Regions from separate parts of the Homo sapiens genome. Here region 2 is linked to region 1. Evidence: promoter capture Hi-C in human tissues and cell types (Jung and others, 2019). All regions are on one chromosome and are shown on one strand. The core of a region is centred on a gene start or on the middle of the fragment in contact, and the rest is flanking DNA. Distances in the headings are between cores, read along the strand shown.

Evidence for each region. Contacts are between HindIII fragments. The study calls those that stand out against the background at their distance.
Region 2: the fragment with the promoter of DOHH here is called in contact with the fragment with the promoter of CELF5 in region 1 in 5 of the 25 tissues and cell types used here (IMR-90 fibroblasts, dorsolateral prefrontal cortex, lymphoblastoid cells and 2 more).

What each region holds. Positions count from the first base shown.
Region 1 is chr19:3,223,149-3,228,529 of GRCh38, reverse strand. It overlaps CELF5 (CUGBP Elav-like family member 5), which reads right to left and starts at 3,869. Exons shown (of 13, transcript NM_021938.4): 1 at 3,532-3,869. The coding sequence starts at 3,790. RefSeq lists enhancers at 1-137, 138-678 and a silencer at 3,929-4,048. The HindIII fragment of the contact is 19,492 bases long and covers 1-5,381 here.
Region 2 is chr19:3,497,863-3,503,178 of GRCh38, reverse strand. It overlaps DOHH (deoxyhypusine hydroxylase), which reads left to right and starts at 2,505. Exons shown (of 5, transcript NM_001145165.2): 1 at 2,505-2,618. It overlaps LOC105372245 (a long non-coding RNA gene), which reads right to left. Exons shown (of 4, transcript XR_936262.3): 4 at 2,128-3,244. RefSeq lists an enhancer at 2,394-2,503. The HindIII fragment of the contact is 49,740 bases long and covers 1-5,316 here.

The DNA of each region.
Region 1 (5,381 bases), core at 2,620-5,119:
GGGCCCAGTGGCAGCGGCGGACCAGTACCACCGTGGGCACCTTCCCCTGGCAGGGTGGGCACCCAGGCAGCCACCATCCATAGACAGGGGCAGCCACAGCTCCAGAGGTGCCTGCCTTGGAGGGAGGGTCCCCGGGGCAGGAACTGCAGGGGGGCCAGCGGGAGCCCCAATCCCAGCCTCCAGTTCTTGGCCTGAGCCCCTGGCCTGGGGTGGGGGTCCTTCCTGGGGGAGGTCCCCGCTCTCTGGATGCGGAGTTCTGGCAGGAGCAGGCTTGTGGTCTTCCTGTGGGCCTGCATCTCTCTGCAGCCCCCTCCCTGTCTGTGTTTCTCTGTCTCTGTCTCTCTGTGGGTCTCTCTGTCTCTCTTTCCCTGCGTGTCTCTCTCTCTCTCTCTGTGTCCTCATCTCTCTCTCTCTCTCTCTCTTAAAAACAAACCCAGCGCCCCAGGGCCTGCCCTCTTTCGGAAGACCACCTCGACGCATCCCTCTCCCCCTACCCCTGCCCCGCTCCTGGATGAGGCCTCCTGCCTTTCTCTGAGTCTCAGCACGGCCTCTAGGAATCTGGCTGCCCCCACGCCACCTTCGGCCAGGCCAGCTGTGGCTGTCAGGTGTCACGGGCCCCTCCATCCCCAGCACCATCTCTGGGGGCCTCACTCTTGGCTTTGGGGAACCTGTCACCCCTATGTCACACAGATACAGGCACAGCTGCTTCTCCTGGCCTGGGAGGAAGGCAGGGGGGGTAATGGGGGCCTAGCTCCGGTAAATGTGGGACCCAGGGTATGTCTCTCAAGCCCTCAGTTTCCCAGAAATGCGCTGTCACTCGGAGCCCACCTCCATGGCGATGGGTTCCATGGGGAAATCAAACAAGTCCCTGCAGCCTGGACACCAAGGAAGGGCTAGAGGTGGTACCAGCTGACCCCCTCCGGGCTTGTACCAGGAGCCGGGTGCACCTCCAGGGTGTTCTCATCCCACCCCACTCTACTCCTTACAGATCTCCTGTGCCCAGTCTCATGGGCCCCGCCGGGCATCCAGGGAAAGGGATTTCTCTCCAGGCCTGGGGTCCATATCCCCAAGGCCCTGCCACTCTGAACAGGCACACTAAACCACGCCAGGGCTCCCAGAAACAGCCCTAATAAGGTCATGTTGGTGGCAGGTGTCTGAACTCACTCCTCTCCCCAAAAATCCTGACTTCCCATTCACCATTCCACCTCCCTTCAGCCAAGGCCCAGAGAGGGCCCAGAGAGGGGCAGTCACTAGCCAGAAGTCACACAGCTGAGCCCCAAACGCAAACCTGGATCACAGATGCTGATTCTGAAGACACCCCCCCACCCCTTCGTGCCAAGCACCTGCAGGCAAAGACCAGGTGAAGTCCAGCCAGGCCCCACGCAGGTGGGGATTCACTTCCCCGAGGGTACTGGACCCATTTTCGACACGAGGTGAAGCCCCTGTATCTCACACACAGACGGACCTGGGACCCCTAAAAAGTGGAGGGTGATTGCCGGCTGTCGTGCACACGGCTTCTCAATTCTCACCCTCCAAGGAAAGCCCGCAAATGGGAAATACCCCCGAGGTACCCCAGGGACCCCAACATTCTCCAACCTGTAAAAAAAGAACTGGGGATGCGTCATGGTCCTGCTCTGTTGACAGCAGGGAAACTGAGGCTCAGGGCCAGGTGAAAACCCAGCCCCAGCCCCTCCTTCACCCCTCACTTCTCCCGTGCCCAGGTTTCCCAGAGATTTAAAAATAAGAAGGAAAAAAAAAAAAAGATGAAGAAGAGTCACCAGGATGCTCCAGTCCCTGCACCCCCACCTGTCTCTCCGACCTAGAGCTCAACCAGCGGCCTTTCAATGCAACCGTTTGGGGGGCCATGTGGACTCCCCCATTCCCACGGGAATCTTTCTAGAAATGGGTGCTTTGGGTGTACCCAGGGGTGGGGGCGTGTGGGAAAAGCCCACCTATCACCTCTGGACTCCAGATATTGACTTATGGGGGCCGCATGGGAGCCCCTCTGCCCTCCTAGGCCACATGGAGGAGTTAGATTTTTCAGGCCCAATTTTGTGTGTGTGTGTGTGTGTGTGTGTGTGTGTGTGTGATGGTTGGTTTTGAAAAGAGATGGGGAATGGGGAGGGGTTTCTTTCCTCCCTCAAGATAACCAGCTGGAGGGTCTAGCTGAAGTGACAGGCCTGGGCCCCATCTCACCAGACCCTCCCTAGGGCCTTCTTGAACCCCTTCATTCATTCATTCATTCATTCATTCATTCATTCAATTCATTCATTCAATAAACATGCATTCATGCTTACCGGGCACGCAGCGCTGGGGAAAAAGTGGGTGTAAAATAGGTCATGGGCCCCGGTCCTTCCCCAAGGCCTCTCCAGGGTCTTCCTGGAGGATGGGAGGGGGAGGGCCGGGGGTGTCCAGCACAAGGCCTTTGAAGTGGCACCCCCAGTCCCCAACACCTGACCGGAAGGCTGTCAAAGCCACCCCAATTCAGACGCTGGGCCCATGATGGGAACCAAGGGCTGGGGATACAATTGCCGGACACCCCCACCCGGGATGCCATCGGAGGGAGAATCCAGTGGGAGGGAGGCAGACAGGCCTGAGGCCGCCCACGCCTCCCTCCTCCTCCCTGTCCACCCCAGAATTTGGGCTCTGCCCAGATGGACACGTCCAAGCTCATTGTCTTGGGCCTGAGACCCCAACACATTGCTAAGAGGCTCGGCCAGTTTCAACTTGAGCCCAAGGTGGAGGCGGGGGAGGGGGAGGGCAGAGAAATGGAGGAGAGAATGCTGATCCACGCGGAGGTGGTGGGGCCAGGGGGTGGGCAGCGACGGGAGCCTCTCCGCCACCCGAGGCAGGCGAGGCGGGCGCGTCCCCCCGAGCCGGGCGCCCCCAACCCGTCTTCCTTTGTAGTTACCGATTAGCCTGGGGTCCTGGGCATCCGTGTCCCCCGCGGCCGGACCTGCCCCGCCGGCCTGGCTTTGTGAAAATAACCAAAGCAATGGAGTCCGCAGGTGCAAACTTCCCCGACGGGGCCTGGGGAGGCTGAATGAATGGGGGTGGGGGGGCAGGGAGGGGTGCCGGCGTTCCCGAGGCTCCCCTGGCAAACGGGCAGGAAAGAGTGGGGTGAGGGAGGGAGGAAGGGGTGGGGGTCTGGGGGATGGAAGGGTGAGGGAGGGAGGGAGGGAGAGAGAGGGTGCTGTGGGGGGAAGGATGAGAGGTCGAGGGAGATGGGAGAGAAGAGAAAGGGAGAGAGAGAGGGAGAGAGAGAGGGAGAGAGAGAGGAGATGCCGGAAGGTGGGGAGGGAGGGAGAGGGGGCGGAGGAGGGGAGGGGGCCCGCTCGGATCTGTCAGCTGCACCCCCAGAGAGGGGAGGAGGGGTGGGTGGGAGGGAGGGGGTAAGAACCGATGCTCCGGCAGAGGCAGGCAGAGGAGGGAGGTGAGCAGAGGAGGGATGGTGATGGGGGAGAGAAGATGCCGGAAGGTGGGGTGGGAGGCGGAGGGAGGGGGAGAGGGGGGAGGGGGCCGGGCGCCCACCTTTGTGCATCCCCGTGTAGGGGTCTTTGAGCACCGTGAGCTCGTAGATGCGGCCGAACTGCTCGAAGAGCGGCTTGAGGTCCTTCTCGTCCAGGTGCCGCGGGATCTGGCCCACGAAGAGTTTGATGGCGTCCAGGTCCTTCATGCCGTCGGGCTGCCCCCCGGGGGGCTCGGGCCCGCTGCTGCCCACGGGCGAGGGCCGCGGCTGCAGGAGCTGCTGCTGCTGCCGGCGCGCCTCGCTCTCCGTCAGGCGGGCCATGGCGGGCGCGGGACCGAGCCGGCGGCGGCGGCGGCGGGCGGCGGGCGGACTCGCAGCTGGAGCGGCGGCCGCGCCTCCCGCCTCCCTCCCGGGCCCCCGCGCCCTCCTCCCGCCCGCGCCCGCCCCGGCATCGGGACCACAAAGGCGGCTCCGCAGCGGCCCCTGGCGGCCGCGCCGCGCGGGGCAGCCGGCGCCTCCCCGCATCCCCGGGCCGCGGGGGGAAACTGAGGCCGGAAGGCCCCGGGCCCCGCCTACGGGTGGGCGAGGGCGGAGCTGCGGGCGGGACGGGCCTTAGCCGGCTTCCCAGGGGTCCCCGCCGGCTCCCGCGGAGGGCATCGGCCGGAAGAATGTCAAAAGTTGCTGGGATAATGTAGGGGGCTTGTCGTTGAAAGCGCCCGTGATCCTTAAAGTAGGTAACTCATCAATAATATTAATAACACTAATAATATGGCTGGGCGCGGTGGCTCACGCCTGTCATCTCAGCACTTTGGGAGGCCGAGGTGGGTGGATCACTTGAGGTCAGGAGTTCGAGACCAGACTGGCTAACACGGTGAAACCCCGTCTCTACTAAAGAATACAAAAATTAGCTGGGCTCGGTGGCGGGGGGTGCCTGTAATCCCAGCTACTCGGGAGGCTGAGGCAGGATAATCACTTGAACCCAGGAGGCGGAGGTTGCAGTGAGCCAAGATTGTGCCATTGTACTCCAGCCTGGGCAACAAGAGCAAAACTCCGTCTTGGTAAAAAAAAAAAAAAAAAACACCTAATAATAACAACACTAATAATAATTAATCAAGAGCAAGACAAAGTGCTCCCACTAATCACGACAGCACAGGAGAAATGGTAAAAGTATCTTCCAGTTCTATAGGGTGCTTACACATAGAAAGTGTCCTTGGCCCTTTAAGTATGTAACTCATCAATAATGTCATCAACAAGGAGGGAGACTGGCTCGCACTGATAATGACAGGATAGGAGAAATACTGAAGTATCTCCCAGCTCTAAAGTGCCCGTGATCCTTTACGTATGAAACTCATCAATAATATTAATAAAAATAATAATACGTGCTGGCCGTGGTGGCTCACACCTGTAATCCCAGCACTTTGAGAAGCAGAGTCAGGAGGACCACTTGAGCCCAGGAGTTGGAGACCAGCCTGAGCAACATAGTGAGACGCCATTGCTGTAAAAAATAAGAAAACAGGCCAGGCACGATGGCTCACACCTGTAATCCCAGCACTTTGGGAGGCTGAGGCAGGTGGATCACCTGAGATCAGGAGTTCGAGACCAGCCTGATCAACATGGAGAAAACTCTGTCTCTACTAAAAACACAAAAATTAGCCAGGCATGGTTGTGCATGCCTGTAATCCCAGCTACTCAGGAGGCTGAGGCAGGAAAATCGCTTGAACCCGGGAGGCGGAGATTGCAGTGAGCCGAGATTGCGCCATTGCACTCCAGCCTGGGCAACAAGAGTGAAACTCTGTTTGAGAAAAAAAAAAAAAAAAATCAGCCAGGAGTGGTTGGTGTGCACCGTTGGTCCCAGCTACTCGGAGGCTGCGGTGGGAGCATCGGTTGATCCCTGGGATATTAAAGCTGCAGT
Region 2 (5,316 bases), core at 1,256-3,755, 280 kb before region 1:
GGCCAGTCACACCTGGCACCCTGCCCTCGTAGCCTTCCTGAGTCAGCACAGCTCCTGGTCCACGGGAAGTCCTCCGTAAACAGCCTGAGCCACAAACATGTTGAGATGACGTCCTCGCAAGGCAGCTGAGGGCTGCAGTGATGCCTGTTATCTGCAGTCAGTTTTCCAACACATAGGAAGGCAATACAATAATTTAAAAAAAAAAAGGGGGGGTGGGCCGTGCACGGTGGCTCACGCCTGTAATCCCAGCACTTTGGGAGGCCGAGGCGGGCGGATCACGAGGTCAGGAGATCGAGACCATCCTGGCTAACACGGTGAAACCCCGTCTCTACTAAAAATACAAAAAAATTAGCTGGGCTTGGTGGTGGGCACCTGTCGTCCCAGCTACTTGGGAGGCTGAGGCAGGAGAATGGCGTGAACCCAGGAGGCGGAGCTTGCAGTGAGCTGAGATCGCCCCATTGCACTCCAGCCTGGGTGACAGAGCGAGACTCTGTCTCAAAAAAATAAAAGTGGGGGTGTCAGCTCCATGAGGCCAGACACTGTGTCTGTTTTGTCCTGTGTCCTCTGTGCCCAGGACACTATCCTCTGTGCTCAGGACACTGTCCAGCACACAGTAGTTGCTCAATAAGTATTTGTGAATGTTGTCTTAAAATAGAAGTTGGCCTTCCAAAAGGATTTCTTTGCTATGCACAGCATTTTATGTTTTTTCATTAATTTTTATTTAATTATTTTTTTGAGATGGAGTCTCACTCTGTCACCCAAGCTGGAGTGCAGTGACGCGATCTTGGCTCACTGCAACTTCCGTCTCCTGGGTTCAAGTGATGCTCCTGCCTCAGACTCCTGAGTAGCTGGAATTACAGGCACCCGCCACTAGGCCAAGCTAATTTTAGTATTTTTAGTAGAGATGGGGTTTCAGCATGTTGGCCATGCTGGTCTTGAACTCCTGACCACAAGTGATCCACCTGCCTTGGCCTCCCAAAGTGCTGGAATTACAGGCGTGAGCTACAATGCCCAGCCATGTTTTTTTATTAATTGCTCATTTTTTTTTTTTTTTTGAGATGGGGTCTTGCTCTGTCACCCAGGCTGGAATCCAGTGGTGTGATTACAGCTCACTGGATCCTTGAACTCCTGGACTCAAGCTATCAAGCCACCTGAGTAGCTGGGCCTACAGGCATGAGCCACCAGGCACAGTTGATTTTTTTTTTTTTTTTTTGGAAATGGAGTCTTGCTCTGTTGCCCAGGCTGGAGTGCAGTGACAGGATCTCAACTCACTGTAACCTGTGTCTCCCAGGCTCAAGCGATTCTCCTGCCTCAGCCACCCAAGTAGCTGGGATTACAGGCTGAGCCACTGCGCCCAGCCAAATTAAAAAAAATTTTTTTTCTGTTGAGACGGGGGCTTACCACATTGCCCAGGCTGGTCTTGGAATCTTGGGCTCAATCGATCATCCTCTCACCCCACAGCCTCCCAAAGTGCCAGGATTACAGGTATGAGCCACCACTCCTGGCAGTCACCCACATTTTAAAAATAAGAGATTGCAAGCAGGGCACAGTAGCTCACGCCTGTAATCCCAGCACTTTGGGAGGCCAAGGCAGGTGGATCACCTGAGGTCAGGAGTTTGAGACCAGCCTGGCCAACATAGTGAAACCCTGTCTCTACTAAAAATACAAAAAGTTAGCTGGTGTGGTGTTGCATGCCTGTAATCCCAGCTACTCGGGAAGCTGAAGCCTTTTTGTATTTTTAGTAGAGATGGGGGTTTCACCATGTTGGCCAGGCTGGTCTCGAACTCCTGACCTCAAGTGATAACACCCACCTCGGCCTCCCAAAGTGTTGGGATTACCGGTGTGAGCCACCGTACCCGGCCTCTTTCAGGTCTTTCTTCAGATGTCACCACCTCAGATTCTGGCCACCCTTCCTGAAACTGCACACCCTATACATACACCGCCCTTGGCTACCGAATTTTTTCTCGTTAGCCTTTTTCACCATCTAATAGGTATTGCATTTACTTATCGTGTTATTTTCTGTCTCTATAACAACACTGGGAGGCGTACGAGGGTAAGGGCTGAAGGCTCTCTTGTCCTCAAGGCCATGTACTATTTATTACATACATGAATGAATGAACGACTGCATTTCTTCCTTTTTTTATTCCTCACCTACTTAAGGTTCGAGCTCCCTGAGCCCATTGGCCAACACCTCTGGAGTCTGACCACGCCTAGAAACACTGCGCATGCTCCGTTGCTAGCCAGCCCAGGCAGGGCGCTGAATCGGCACAAACCAGTCTCACTTCTTGTACCGCAGTGGGGAGGTTGGAGAGAATTTTTTCCCATGAAAGGGCATACGTTGCCCGTCCCCTTCCCCGAAGAACGCACTAGGAATACTGTTCCTGCGTTTGCATGAGCTGTGGCACCAGCACCGACTCAGCCTTCCGGGCCTCCCTCATGCACGGAGCCTCTCACTAGGTCTCACCCGCGGCTGCGTTGGTGCCGTCCGGCACGGTCACGTGGGCGAGAAAATGGCGGCCCCCAGACCGCACTGCGGGCGTCGCGGCAGGTGAAGCGGTGGTGGCAGAGGCGCCTGCGGTTACTGGCCGGGCCGACGGGTCCTGAGTCTCCAGAGCTCGGTGAGGCGTCCCGGAGGCGGCGATCACGGTGTGGGGCCCGGGTCTGGCGGGCGGTGGCACCGGGAGCGCCTCGTTAGGGAATCCGGTCTCAGGGATTCGTTGACTGTGGATGGGGCGGGTTAAGGGGTCTCGAGTCCCGGCGATCTCTTTCCTCTGGGATTTTTTACATGAAAGAGTGCCCACCTCACGTCCTGAAGCTCCTATGTCGTACGGTTGGGTCTCAATGGTCCCCAGTGCCCTGCCAGCTCGCACAGGCCTGCCCTCTGGTTTCTGATGACCCCTCTTTAAAGGTGTCACTCTCCTTTGATGGTCACCTGTGCTTAGGTGGCTACACTGCCCTCGTCAAGCCCAGGCAGCCTTGCTGACGCCACTGTTCACCAGAGAGGGCTGCCAGCATGCCATAGCCAGCCTGTCTTGAGATGAAGCATCCGCCAGGTTCTCAGCCGATCTGGAAAGAGAGGGGTCCCTTCTCCCCTTGGCTGTGTTCTTTTATCCTAAGTCATTCAACAAAGCGTTGGTGGTTTAGAGCCCGACTCTGGAGCCAGACTTCCTGGATTCCTAACTCTTCACGCTGCTCCCAAGCAAGTTCCCAAGCACAGTCCCAAACTGTGCCTCAGTTTCCTCACCTGTAAAATGGGGACAATCTTAGTAACTACCTCACAGGGTAGTGATGTAGATCGAATGAATTAATGAATGTAAAGAGCATGGAGTGCCTGGCGCGTAGCAAATGCTACATAAGTGTCAGCTGCTATTGTCACGGTTGTCGTTTTTATTTTATTTATTTATTTTGAGACAGGGTCTTGCTTTGTAGCTCAGTCTGGAATGCAATGGCACGATCTCGGCTCACTGCAACCTCCGCCTCTCGAGTTCAGGCGATTCTCCTACCTCAGCCTCCCGAGTAGCTGGGATTACAGGCGCCCACCACCACGCCCAGCTAATTTTTGTATTTTTAGTAGAGATGGGGTTTCACCATGTTGGTCAGCTGGTCTCGAACTCCTGAACTCAGATGGTCTGTCCACCTCGGCCTCCCAAAGCGCTGGGATTACAGGCGTGAGCCACCGCGCCCAGCCGGTTATTGTTTTTATTGAGGCCCTACTGCGTGCAGGTCATTGCACTAAGTGCTGGGAATACAACAGTGACCAAGATAGACTCAGTCCCAGCCTTCAGAGTTCTATTCTAATGAGGGATAAGACCAATCACAAGCAACTAAACCAATACTTTCCAATATGATATCTAGGAGTCTTAGGCGCCGTGGAGAAAAATAAAGCTGAATAAGTGAAAAGAGATGGAAGAGTAACATTGTCCATTGTGATCAGGGAAGGCTTCCATGAGGAAGTGATGTTGGAGACCCAGGAAAGCAAGAGGATGAGCACGGGTGTTCCTGGACCAAACTGAGGGTCGGGCTGCTATTTCTCATGGTCCAATAACGAGATGCAGATTAACTGGGGAGGAAGAGAGTTTTTATTTCTGTAACCGGTTACAGGGAGAAGGCCTGGAAAATATCGCCAGACCAACTCAAAATGACAAAGTTTTCCAGAGCTTATATACCCTCTAAGCTCTCCATCTACATGTAACTGAGCATCCATCTAAAGACTTAAAGTGACTAACTTCTTTTAATCTATAACTAAGATCTGAATCCTGAAGACTTTCCTTTGGAACCTCAGTAAATTTACTTAATCTAAATGGGTCCAGGTGCTGGGGTGATCACCCTTATCTCATCTCCAGTGGGTCCAGGTGCTGGGGTGATCATCCTTATCTTGTCTCCTGCTAAATCATGGAGGTTTGGGGAGTTCTTCAGACACCCAGTAAAACTTGTTTCATCCTAAACGGGTCACATTAAGAATTCCTTCGTTATTGGCTGGGTGTGGTGGCTCAAGCCTGTAATTCCAGCAGTTTGGGAGGCTGAGGCGGGTGGATCACCTGAGGTTGGGAGTTCGAGACCAGCCTGACCAACATGGAGAAACCCTGTCTCTACTAAAAATACAAAATTAGCCGGGCATGGTGGTGCATGCCTATAATCCCAGATACTCGGGAGGCTGAGGCAGGAGAATCACTTGAACCCTGGAAGCATAGGTTGTGGTGAGCCGAGATAATGCCACTACACTCCAGCCTGGGCAAAAGAGCGAAACTCTGTCTCAAAAAAAAAAAAATTCCTTCATTATCTTGTCATGCCTTAAGGCCCAGGAAAGGCCTGGGCAAAACTCTTCATGGGCTTTTGTTACATTCCAGCCTTTGTATGAGGGCACTGGCTCTTTTAGCTTTTAATGTTTAACTTAACCACTCAGTCAGTGCTGAAACAGTTATGGAGGCCTGTGTTAGTGAGGCCTGGCCTGCTACGTGGGGACATCTAGGGAAGAATGTTCCTCATGGAGATCACAGCAAATGCAAAGGCCCTAGGGCTGCACTGGGCCTGGCGTGTTGGAGGAACAGCGAGGAGGCCTGTGTGGCTGGAGTGGAGCTAGAGAGGGAAGAGGTGATGGGAGATGGTCATGAAGGGCCTTTGGGACTGTCAAGTAGTTGAGTGAGGAGGCATAGGAGGATTTTAAGCAAGGGAGTGATATGGTCCAGTTTACATATTGAAAGTACTTCTGAATCTGTTATCTAAGCTGTGTAACAAAAATCCCCATAATGGCTGGGGGTAGTGGCTGATGCCTGTAATCCTAATGCTTTGGGAGGCTGAGGCAGGATGATCACTTGA